2 separate regions of the Homo sapiens genome follow, and region 2 is linked to region 1. The links are contacts of gene promoters, found by promoter capture Hi-C in human tissues and cell types (Jung and others, 2019). All regions are on one chromosome and are shown on one strand. Each heading gives the region's core, a stretch centred on a gene start or on the middle of the fragment in contact. The rest is flanking DNA. Distances are from core to core; before and after follow the strand shown. Region 1 holds the start of ROBO1 (roundabout guidance receptor 1). Region 2 has its middle 72 kb from the start of ROBO1.

What was found. The method cuts DNA at HindIII sites, captures the fragments that hold promoters and counts their contacts. A contact is called where the count stands out against the background at its distance.
Region 2: a fragment that was not itself captured here is called in contact with the fragment with the promoter of ROBO1 in region 1 in 2 of the 25 tissues and cell types used here (dorsolateral prefrontal cortex and mesendoderm cells).

Annotation. Positions count from the first base shown.
Region 1 is chr3:79,765,703-79,772,582 of GRCh38, forward strand. ROBO1 (roundabout guidance receptor 1) reads right to left here and starts at 2,296. Exons shown (of 31, transcript NM_002941.4): 1 at 2,050-2,296. The HindIII fragment of the contact is 15,501 bases long and covers 1-6,880 here.
Region 2 is chr3:79,836,707-79,843,006 of GRCh38, forward strand. No RefSeq gene overlaps it. Among named protein-coding and RNA genes, the nearest start is that of ROBO1, 72 kb to the left of the region's middle. The HindIII fragment of the contact is 5,213 bases long and covers 1,431-6,300 here.

The DNA.
Region 1 (6,880 bases), core at 1,046-3,545:
ATGGAAAGCGAGGAAAAAATGAAATGGCATTGTCTTCCCCCAGGTGCTCAATCAGTATATTTCCTTTGATGTGTAGCCTTCAAGTAACTGACAACCCCAAGTGGCCCATTCTATAGGGTCCTGCATCTACGCTCCTTCCTCTGTGCGCTCAGCCCGGGTTGACAAGCAACCTCCAAATTAAACAACCTCCCACCACTACTTGGAAACAGACAACCATCTCTTAACAGGCCTCTGTAACACACAGCTTGATGAAAATCACTTACACAGGGCAGATGACACAGAGGAGTTTACAAGGTCGGGGCACTCCTTGGCGGGGCGTGAAAGGGTGGGAGGTGCTGAGGTCAGGGTTAAACTACCCTGTGAAATGAGCCTCCTGCCCTGCCCTTTCCTCCCTTCATCTATAGAAGGAGCCTCCAGTGAGTTCCTGCGTCTGGAAATCTGCCCCCTTTAGTGCCGCAGACAGGCCAGGGACAGCATTTCAAAGCTCCTCTAAATCAATCCACTTAAAAGAGCCCAGAAAAGCCTGACCATTGACCATAATTGCCCTAAATTGCTTGTTTTCCTTCCCCTCTTGCAGCCTCATCAACATTTCCCTTCTTTCCCCCTTCGTGTCCTTTTTTCTTGGGGGCGCAGGTCCTCTAGATGCTTGGGGTGCACACTAAGGATATTTGAGTAGTGGGAGCTCCGACTCGAGGCAGGAGTGGGATGTCTTAGCATTCCGTCTCCCCCACCCCACCCATCTGCGTGGGACACAGTGACTCCTAGAAGGGTATCCCAGGATTTTAGCGGCCAGGTGTGAGCGCCCTCCACGCGGTCCTCCGAGACCTCAGGGCGCGTGGCAACTGGGCAGAAGCCGTCTCTGCAGCGCCGCTGCCCCGGGTGGAGCGGCAGCCCAGGCTGCAGCAGTGGGGTTGCCACGCCGAGTTTTCCGCATCGGCCGCCCGCAGGGCTCGCCTGCTTCTCCCCATTGTGTTCTCAGAGCTGTGGGACCCAGCCGCGCGCGCAGCCGCACCCGCGCCAACGCTGGAACCGAAGGCTCATGGAAGCGGGGCTGGCAAGATGGGGCAGGGAGAAGGAGCAAGAAGGGGCCCCAGAAGGGCACGGCGTTTCATCAATAATGCAGAGGCTCCTGGACCTCCCTGCAATACGTTTTCCAGCTAAACGCCACCAACTGGAGCGCTTCCTGGTTCGTCCCACTCGTGTGGTTTTTGTGTGTGAAAGATGGGACGCACCTTTTTCATTCATCTGTCTTCTCTCATTCTTCCTCCTTCCCTCCCTCATTTCCTCCCTCAAAGTCCCCGCTGGCTTAGCTTTAAGCTCTCGTCTTCACATCAGCACCATGTTTTCAAGCAAAATCCTGCAGGTTGGAAATGCAAGTGTCAAAAGTCCCCACTGCCTACATACCGCCAAGAGTTTACCAAAATCCACCTAGTAACGCTTATTTTCAAAGCCCCCACGCGCATCCATTCCTGGAGAATGCTTTCAAAGTTTGGAAGCTCCCTGCAGCCTGCCCGTGTCTATGCCTCAGTCAGCTCACATCACGAACAACGGTGCGGTCAGCGGCACTGAGATTAGGCTGCAAAGTTGCCCGGCCCCAGCCCACTACACCGCTGATGCTCGCCGCATCCCTAGAGCAAATTCCGCTGTGTGCCCCCAAGAAGCCAAAAGCGGCACGAAACCTACTCCAACAAGGGTTAGCCCAGCCACACACACAACAAACAAATTCCAAAACTTCTTTGTTAAGCAGCCGCAGCCTACCTGGAACGGACACTCTGCACAACTGGCAAGGAAGAAACAAACATCGCATCCCTGCAGGAAAACTTGTTGAATCCCTCCCGATCGCAAGGCTGCAATTTCCGATTTAGCCTGAAGGTTTTTGATTCTACCCCAAAACACCCTGGCGCATCAGCCACAATTTCTGGATAAACTGCAGAGTCCTCTCGGCAACCATTCTGCACTCCAACAACCACTAGTGTAAAACCCAGCGTGTCCCCTTTTACAAATCAAAAGCCAGCTGTCACTTCCCTTGCAACCATTTCCGAGACTTACCCTTCCATAAGACTGTTTTCAGCAATCTAGAGGCTCCGTAGTGCAGACGCAGCCCTGCAACTTTGCTGTGCACTGAGACCTTTCCGAGTTTAAACCAAGCGAAAGGTGACAGACTTTTAAACCTAAGAGTGGGGAAATAGGGAGAGAGTGAAGTCGGGTTTCTTCTCTGTATCAGCACCCTGGAAAAATTCAATCCTTCTTCAGTAGAGAATTCTTTCAAACCCGTTATCTGTATTACTATTAATGCGCAGAGCAGAAGGCATTGCATACAAATAGGTCCAAGTGTGCGCTTCTATTGGTGGCTGCGGAGGCCCCTGGGTCCTACTGCTCCGGTCTAAACTACACAGCAACACTAGGCACGCAGCTTTGGAGACGCCGAGGGGAAAATGGATTTAATTGATTCGTTACCTCTGGTATTGTAATGCCTGCTGCGATGTTTAACCGAGGGGGGAGGAAAAAAAAAAAAAAAAACCCTTACATTTAACTCCTGTCATGTGATCTATCATTCCATAGCTGCTTTTAATTGTCTGTGTGGAGTGGCTTTGATCATACAAAGGATTTTAAAAGAACATTTTCGAAGGAAAATTCACACAGACACTTTTGGCAGGAAAACCCTCTTTTGCTCTCTATTATGCATTATTCTCATATAAATCCAGGAAATTTTATATAATCAAATACTTCTGCACTTCACGTAGGTACACACAACACCCAATTGTATTTACAATTCATAGCTACTACAAATAAAATACCTTACATGGGTAGTAGATAGTAGAAGCTAAAATATGAGTCTACCAATTATAAAACACGGGTTATATTAGTCAAATGCTACAGAAAAAATTCCATCAATGACAATGGCGTCAGCATCATTTTTACTTCGCAAAATTAGAAATTCAAAAATATTTTCCTTGTAAATATTGACATAAAGATATAAATCAACATAAAGGTATTATAATGTCACAGTATGTCAAGCATTTACTATTAATTGCTACATTATCTTTTTACAGTTTCTCTCTTAGCAAGTTCATTAGTAATGCAAATTGGCATAACAAGGAGATTTAAAGTGAGGCCGACCTGTGGTGACTAGCAATTTGAAATATTGTAATAGTGTGCAAAATCACTTTAGTTCATCATCGGTAAAGCCAGTTATTTTAAGAATTAGAATATTAAATGCTGAATCTTAATATATATTAATTTGAAGTCTTAAACATGCTGTTTTCTTTGACCTTTAATTTTGTGGAGGAAAAGAGAAATCCTTATTTAAACTAAAATGACATAGACTTTCCACAAAATCCTAGATACGATATTTACTGATATTATAATTTAGGAAGTAACATAATTTTATTGTCTTTGATGTAAATAATTGTGATAAATTCCAATTTAATTACAAAATTATTACATATATGTAATGTACAACTGAATGAACATTGTTGGAAAGGGCCACTCTGGATAAGGTTAACATCAACCAACCTATAAATTCACTACCTATGTGTAAACTAAATAAATGAAAACACAATGCAAAAATACAACAGACTCGAGATCTTATTCCAAATACATGTAAAGCATTTGAATTTATGTAGTGTGTGCTACAATCCCTCTTCATTTCCGTAACTCTTTCCCTTTACAGCCCCTTCCCTTCCCCCAATCAGTAACCCTTGACAACAGAAGTGTTAACTTCAAGTCCAGGTTGCCTTTGCTGCCTTCCAGACCTAACTTACAGATTGCATCCTTGTAGGAAACAGAGTTAACTCTTACACGACTGAGAGGTGAAAGAAGAGAGTTTCTTTCAGGGATTAGAAAATCCAGTATTTTTATGTGTATTTGCAAAGTTTGCACCAAACACATATTTTTAAAAATATCCATGATCACTAATTCAGAGTGAAAAGATGTGATCATTGGCATTGTATCAGAGTCAATTTGCTGTATATATCCATTGCTATTGTGTCACTGAAATAGCTTTTGAATAACTTTTATTCAGGGTTACTTCAATCACTTTACTTCAGGTTAATAATTTCTCCATTTACAATAGAGTTAAAATGAAAATACCAAAGTGTTGCAATATTCAGTATAAGGGTATAAAGGACTTTTTTTTAATCTGTAAAAGAAAAGAAAAGCTATTATTTCATATAGTAAGAAAAGCATAATGACCATGCAAAGTTGAATAAAGATGACTGACATTCATCTTATTTCTAAAACAAGTAAATTATTGGTGTTTCAACTTCTTTCTACAAGGGGATCTGAAAAAAATCATTTGCAACCCAACTACAAGTTGAAAGTTCTGCATTTAATGTGTATCATTTTAGAACTGAGAAAAGATGTGTTTTACACAAGCTGACAGATTTTATACAAAATCAATGCAGCTTATCTATGACCATAATTAAATGGGGAAGTTTGATAGTGGACACATATAATAGTGAACAGAAGAAAATAAATAAACCAAAACTGACCTAATAACAAATTTATTATATAATCTCTTGATAAGTTTTTACTTTCTATATAAAAGACTGATGTAAAAATATAGCAAGCTAAACAGAAACTTAAGTTTAACTTACTATTTTTTTAAAAAAGTTTTCTACATCTCTTCAATAAATTACTTGTTTATCCAAATTATTACCATATGAGATGTATATATATATATATATATATATATATATATATATATATATAAAATAAATATATAGTTGTAAATGTTGCAAATATATTTTCCTTACTTCTTGGATACTAAGGCAAAACATATTTTAAAGAAGGATATTAGAACCACAATAGTTTTCATATATCCTAGATCTGTAGGAATATCCTTGATCTATTCTTTATTATTTGAAGTATTGTTGGACCCCTCATTTTGTCAGTGCAATTTTCAAGGACAATATATGCTATGTCAGAAACTGATATCCATTATGTCCTTGGATCATGATGACAATGCCTTATTGTGGTTACTGTGAACATCTATAAAAGTTGGAAAGCAAAACATACATGGCATATCCCTGTCTGTCATTACTACAATCAGCTTCCTTTCTAAATTTAGGTGGGTAAACACGCAATAGCATGCCACTTGATAAAACTTAATGAAATATAATGACATTCAGCTACTATCCAAGCTATTTAAAAAATTCTGCCTTGAGTAATTTTGAAATATGTATAGTTTAAAAAATTTCAAAGCCACAGGCATTGATCTATGTGTCTCTTTAAATAGAATATTTATCCATGCTTGATTTTGACAGATGAAAAGGAAAACTACCAGACATATAAATTATATTCTGAAAGCAGAAATATAAAGAATGTTAACAGCTAAACAGGCATCTTTAAAAGTGTAAATCAGTACTAAACAGCAATATATATATACACACATATATATGTATATATACACATATATACACACATATATGTATATATACACACATATATACACATATATGTACACACACATATACACATATATGTACACACACATATACACATATATGTACATACACACATATACACATATATGTACATACACATATATACACATATGTGTACATACACACATATACACATATGTACATACACACATATACACACATATGTACATACACACATATATACGCATATATGTACATACACACATATATACGCATATATGTATATACACACATATACGCATATATGTATATACACACTTATATACACACATATACACATATATACACATATACACATATATACACACATATACACATGTATACACATATACGCATATATACACACGCATACACATATACTCATATATACACATGCATACACATATACGCATATATACACATATATACACATATACGTATATAGTCACATGTATACACATACGTATATATACACATGTATACACATATACGTAAATATACATATATATATACACATATACATATGTACACATATGTATACATGCACATATACACACATATGTATACATGCACATATACACACGTATACATGCAACATATACACACATGTATACATGCACATATACACACATGTATACATGCACATATATACACATCTGTATATATGCACATATGCACATATATACACATCTGTATATATACGCATGTATACACATCTGTACATATACACATATATATGCACATATGTGTATATATATGTTGCAAGACACCACATCTAAATACATGGCTCAAAACTAATCTGTATGAATTGCTAAAGTAGGTGAAGAAAGTACAGCTCAAGTGTTAAAAATATCTATATAAGATGATACGTTTGAGAAGAAAGATAGAACTTCAAAAAGGTCAATTAAACTTGACATTAAGTGGAAGGGATGAGAACTTCATGGCACAGTGATTTGGTTAAGATGATCACCATAAATGGAATGCTCATATTAAAATTCCAATAAAAATTTGCAAAGAAAGAGGCTAGAAGAGGATATTTTCTACTATTAACAAGATTATAAAGCAAACAAGATTATAAAGCAAACAAGATAAAAGTTGACAATAAAAGTGTGGAAGTAAAATACTTTGGCAAAACAACACAAACACGAAATAGGGTTGGCATCTACTATAGACTTTCCAGATTAGAGAAAATGTTAATAGATAATTTTAAATTTGAACAGGAAGTTCTTAAGATTTCTACCTATTGTCCTAAGAAATCTGGGAATAAAAGCTCCACATACTTTTGTGAAAACAGACAAAAAATTTAAACCTATGTAAAATGTCAGATAAATTTTGAATTAGAGCAAATAAATGAATATAAATATACATATATACAATATTATGCCACCATTACTCCACTAATTAAGAGCTGAACAACAATTTTCTGTATGTTATATGAAAGTTAATGGTCAGAT
Region 2 (6,300 bases), core at 2,787-5,286, 73 kb after region 1:
AGAATTACACCATGGAAATAGTAGAAGAAAAATGAATTACTCTATAACACATGTGTTGGAAAGTTTTTCTATGTATGATTTAAAATACATTGAAAGTAATAGTTGATATTTTAATCATTTAATTATAATATTAATAATGATAATAATAATAATAATAAATTTTGCATGGCAAAAAAGTGTTATAAGCAAAGGCCAAAGCGTAAAAAAGACCAACCAGGAGAAAATATAACATATCACTACAGATAAAAGGCTAATACTCCTAACATATTAGGTACTCTTAAAATTTGAAGGAAAAAAATCCCAAAACAAACAGACAAAAACTATAAGCAGAACATTTATCAAAATATATGAAAATGGCTTCTGAATATAAGAAAATATATAATAATGATTATAGGATATGGATGGGAATAGGATGGACAGAATGGGATAGTGATAAATGACTAAGTACATCCTTTTATGAAGTTTTGACTTTGGTGGTATGTTAATATTTTCACTGCTCAATAAATGAAACCAAAAACTATGTGTTTAAAAAATAAAATTGTTTACAAACAGAATAGCTTTATTTTCAATGAAACATCACCACACTGATAATGAGAAAACAGAACTAATCTTAGTAAATTATGCAGGCTTTTAAAAAGCTTGCAGTGGGAATCGTTAATAATTCTCACAGTATTTTCTATATATTCTGTAATTGAGTACATAAGTAAAATATATTGAACATAATGGAAGCTAGGCTCTCCCTGTTGAGGAAGATTTACACAGCAAAGACTAAAATGTCCAACAATGATAGACTGGATTAAGAAAATGTGGCACATATACACCATGGAATACTATGCAGCCATAAAAAATGATGAGTTCATGTCCTTTGTAGGGACATGGATGAAATTGGAAATCATCATTCTCAGTAAACTATCGCAAGAACAAAAAACCAAACATCGCATATTCTCACTCTTAGGTGGGAATTGAACAATGAGAACACATGGACACAGGAAGGGGAACATCACACTCTGGGGACTGTTGTGGGTTGGGGGGAGGGGGGAGGGATAGCATTGGGAGATGTACCTAATGCTAGATGACGAGTTAGTGGGTGCAGTGCACCAGCATGGCACATGTATACATATGTAACTAACCTGCACATTGTGCACATGTACCCTAAAACTTAAAGTATAATAATAATAAATAAAAAATAAAAATTAAAAAAAAAACTTAAAAAAAAAGACTAAAATGAATCCTGTGCTTTTGGATTGCTGTGCGCTTTACCAGGATGAGCTTTTGAACTCATAGTACATATTTAGCTATATGTCATCTATATCTGCATCTGCCTAATACCAATATGTGTGTGTGTGTGTGTGTGTCCATGTGAATAATTTCCTAGCTATGTCCACTACAAGAGCTTCAAAGCAGGGGCACACCAATAGTGATGAACACACCTGATGTTCACTTAAGGCAATGAGGACTTCTTGGAGAAATGACTGTTTCCAGCACTAAGGAAGAAGAAAGACAAGATGAGCCTGATATGATATGCCAACAATTATGCCAGAAAGTAAAAGTGCTGGAAACCTGTCAAAGAACATGGTAATTAGCTTGAATGGGCTCTACTACGCTTTGAATGTGTCCCCCAAATTTCATATGTTGGAAATACAATCCTCAATGTGGCAGTATTGAAAGGTGGACCTTTAAAAGGTGATTGGATTAATCCATCCATGGATTAATGGATTAAGGAATTTTGGGGTTAATGGATTGATGGATATCATGGGAGGAGAATGGGTGGCTTTGTCAGAAGAGAAAGAGAGACCTGAACACAGTAGCCTGCTCAGCCATCCCACCATGTGATGCTTGTGCTGCCGCAGGACTCTTCAGAGAGCCCCTATCAGCAAGAAGCCTCTCACCAGATGCAGCCCTCAACTTTGGACTTCTTGGCATCCATAACTGAGAAGTAAATTCATTTTCTGTATAAATTATGCAGTTTCAGGTATTCTGTTATAGAAAATACAAAAGGAACTGATGCAGTCTCTCACTAGCCAAATATAGATCAATTTGAACAATTAAACAATGAAAATACAAAATGAACTGATATAGTCTCTCACTAGCCAACTGTAGATCAATTTGAACAATTAAATAATGATAGTAACAGGTTATTACCCACTGAATAAAATAATAATCTATTAGTTAATACTGATGTAAGTACAGAAATGAATAAATAAATAGAGGCATGAAGAAAGCTTTACGTTAGAGTAACATGACAATTAATAAACTTAAGTAGAATTATGGAGTTAGAAAATCACCTTTTATTATCATTATAGAAATTGATTCTGGCAAGAGTTAGCAACAGATGCAATACTAATGGGTGAGAATATGATGAGAGAGGAGATATTGTCATAGTCTGAAAGCCTCCCCACAAATTATTTATTAATTACAAAGAGGAAACAGACATCTTAGAGTAGAGAAGTTTGGCAGACACTATCATATGTAATTGATTAAAGTTAACATTATCAATACTGGTACAAGCCAAAAGTACTTACCTCCTGATTTGATGTATGGAGGAAAATACAACATTACTTCTGTGGTGTTTCTTCTGAGATGCATAATCTGAATCTAATCATGGTGAAACAGAAGAAAAAAACAAATTGAAGTGCCTTCTAAAATCTAACCGTACTTTTAAAAAAAGTTAATAACGTAAAAGACAATAAAAATCTGATGATACAGGTGAAAATAGACAAAAGAGACATGTATCTTAAATGTGATATTACTCTGGATTGTATTTGGGAGTAGAAACAAATATTTATCAAAGACAATTTAAAAATTTAAACTGAAAATTTGAGTTATATAATAGCATTGTATCAAGGTTAAATTTTCTGTTTGTTAATAAACTTCAGTAAGACAATGTAATGCCCTTGTTTAAACTAAGTGCATGCTAAGTTAATTAGATTTAAATCATCATAATATCTACTAGTTATTCTAAAATAATTGAGAAGGTAGAAAAAATATATAGACCATTGTATTAGTCTGTTTTCACACTACTATAAAGAACTGCCAGGGATTTGGTAATTTATAAAGGAAAAAAGTTTAATTGGCTCACAATTCCTCATGACTGGGGAGGCCTCAGAAAAATTACAATCATGGCAGAAGGCATCTATTCACAGGGTGGCAGGAGAGAGAATGAGAGTCGAGCAAAGGGAGAAAAGCCCTTATAAAATCATCAGATCTTGTGAGACCTAATTCACTATCATGAGAACAGGGTGGGGAAAACCGCCCCCATGATTAAATTATCTCCACCTGGTCCTTCCCACGACAGATGTGGATTGTGGGAACTATAATTCAAAATGAGATTTGGGTGGGGACACAGCCAAACCATATCAACCATTGATGAGGGGATGAGAGAGAGAGAGACAGAGAGAGAGAGAGAACAAATCTAAATAAATAAAAAATATTAGTATCTGGTGAATCCTAATAAAGGATATATCATAGCTCTTTGTACTAGTAGCCTTGAAAATTTTCTGTAAATTAAACATTATATAAAAATAAAAGGTATACAAACTGTGAGCATAAATATCATGGATAAAAATAAAAACAGTGACTCAAAATATAGGTATATGTATGAATACATACATAATTTTTCACTTAGTTTCTTTGGAAACTTTGGAAGCTTTGGGACTTTTACATTTCATACCTTATTTATAAATGGAAGTAAATGATTGTTTGTGAGAAAAAGAGCATTTTTCTTATGTAAGAGATGAGTAACCTGAGGCTTATGGATATTTTGAACTAAGTTTAAATTCACACTAACTAGTCATACAATTTAATAGCAAATATTCCAATTCCAAATTAATTTTTAATAGTTCTATGAGGTCATCATTTGGGTGGGAAATTTTAAGTGAAATTTTCCTTTTCCCTATCTTATCCCTGTCAGAGTCAAGGTCCAGTTAAACAAGTTTTCTTTTGTGACAAAGTGGATCAAAAAATAATAATTGTTCATATCAAATTTGGAGTATTTTGTTTTACTCAGGAGTTCTCTGATATAAAGTTTTTTGTTTCCTGGCTTTTTCGCATTCCCCAAAAATGGCCCATTAAAATCTGAAGCTTGGCTTGCTGGAAATTGACAGCTGCCTGCTTGAGCACTCGTACCCCTGGATTTGGGTTTTCTTATTTGTTTAGGTCTCTGAGACTTTCCCTGCCTGCTTGCCAGCAAGCCAATTTTGAATGGTTGCTTTGAATTGTTTTATCCAGCATTTTTAGAGGTTTGGCAATAGAGGGGTTTCAGAAACATTAACTGACATTTCACCTTGAAATGGAAGGTTCTATTTGTTGTTGTTGTTGTTTACCCTCTTGGATAGTAAGATTGGGACATGGAAGTAAGAGTCACACATTGGTGGCTGGTAGTGTCTCACTTTATCTGAAATTTTGGTACATTTATTAAAATAACAAACAGAAAACTAATAAATAATTTTTCAAAATTTTAGTTAGCCACCGTCAAATCTTATTACATTGATTGTAACTATAAGCAAATGTGCTATTACTTTTTTCATTTAATTGTGTTAGAATATTTTAGGTTCTGCCTTATAAATGCATTATTATAATTAACAACCTACATGGACATTGTCTGAGTAGATTAAAACTTATAATAGGTAAGGAGATCTTATAAAGCTTATTATGCCTTGACAAAAGGCATAATAAGCTAATACAAAAATGGTTGATGCTTATAAAATAGATTTTTCCAGAAAATTAAATACAAACACTCAATAAATATATGTAAAGCTATGGTCAATTTCATTATAAATCATGTTCTTTTACTGTAAAAAACAAAAGGCCGACTGCACCCTATTTCTACCAGAGCTTAAAGAAAACAATACTTTGACATATTGCTGGTGCTACTGGATAGCTACTGATATGGTTTGGCTCTGTGTCTCCACCCAAATCTCATATTGAATTGTAATTGTAATCCTCATGTGTTGAAGGAGGGATCTGGTGGGAGGTAATTGGATCATTGGAGCGGTTTCCCCCATGCTTTTCTCATGATAGTGACTGAGTTCTCAGGAGAGCTGATGGTTGTAAAGTTTGTGGCAGTTCCTCTTCCTCCTTCTTCCTCTTCCTCTTTCTCTTCCTCCTCCTCCTCTTCTCCTTCTCCTTCTTCTTCTTCTTCTTCTTCTTCTTCCTCTCTCTCTCTCTCTCTCTCTCCTGCTGCCATGTAAGATGTGCCTTGCTTCCCCTTCGCCTTCTGCCATGATTGAAAGTTTCCTGGAGGCCTCACTAGTTATGCAGAACTGTGAGTCAATTAAATCTCTTTTATTTATAAATTATCCAATCCCATGTATTCTTTATAGCAGTCTGAAAATGGACTAATACAACAACTCTCTGGAAAACAATTTGTCATTATTCGTATAGTCTTCAATAAAGCAAATTCATTCTTCTAAGGAAATCAACCTGTCTTAGAAAAATATCCACCAGTAGCAGAGAATATAGACACAAGAATGTTTAATGCAGCATTCTTTTTATTGGCAACAATCTACAAAAATGGGAATGTCCAAAGCATGTGAAAAGTTGAAAAAATCATGGCATAGCTGCAAATTGATATATTATGCAGTCAGTAAAAATAATAATTTTGGAATCTATTAACATGAAGATATATCCATAAAATATTAAGTAGAGAAAGCTAGTTGCAATAGAATGTGTACAAATATGCTCCCATTTTAAGGAGAAAATGTAAAGATTTTTTTATGTGGAATCGTATACATTAATACAATATTCACACACATCTATTCATGGTATGTATATATGATTTGTAAAGGTATATCTATATATTTGTGTAAAATAATGTAGGCTTAGAGAAAAATATGGGAACACATACCTAAGAACTCTTTTAAAAAGTAATATGGGCTGAAAAGAAGGGTGAGGTAAGGTGAAAAGAAGGCAAGCAAAAACGCAGAAAAGAAATTCTGTATTCTTCAAAAAGTAGAGTTACGTGTGCATTTATATAACAAATATGTAGGTAAAACATACTTAGAGTACCCCAGATAGGCATTATATTAAACACTATTTTAAATCATCCTAAAATTATCAATGCTATGTTTAAAATGCATTTCCTTTGAAATGTTATTGCAATTTCTCCAGAGTATTAGCTATAGAATCTTAGAGGTGGAGTAGACCTTTGCCTACAAGTACATTTATTTGATGCTCTGCAATTTTAAAGTGCAAATGGTTATTTTTTTAAAAGCATGTGTCTAGATGAGCTCTTTAATAACTTTGAAAGATGTAATAAATTTCAAGCAACTATACATCCTTAAAGGGCAAATTAAAAACACC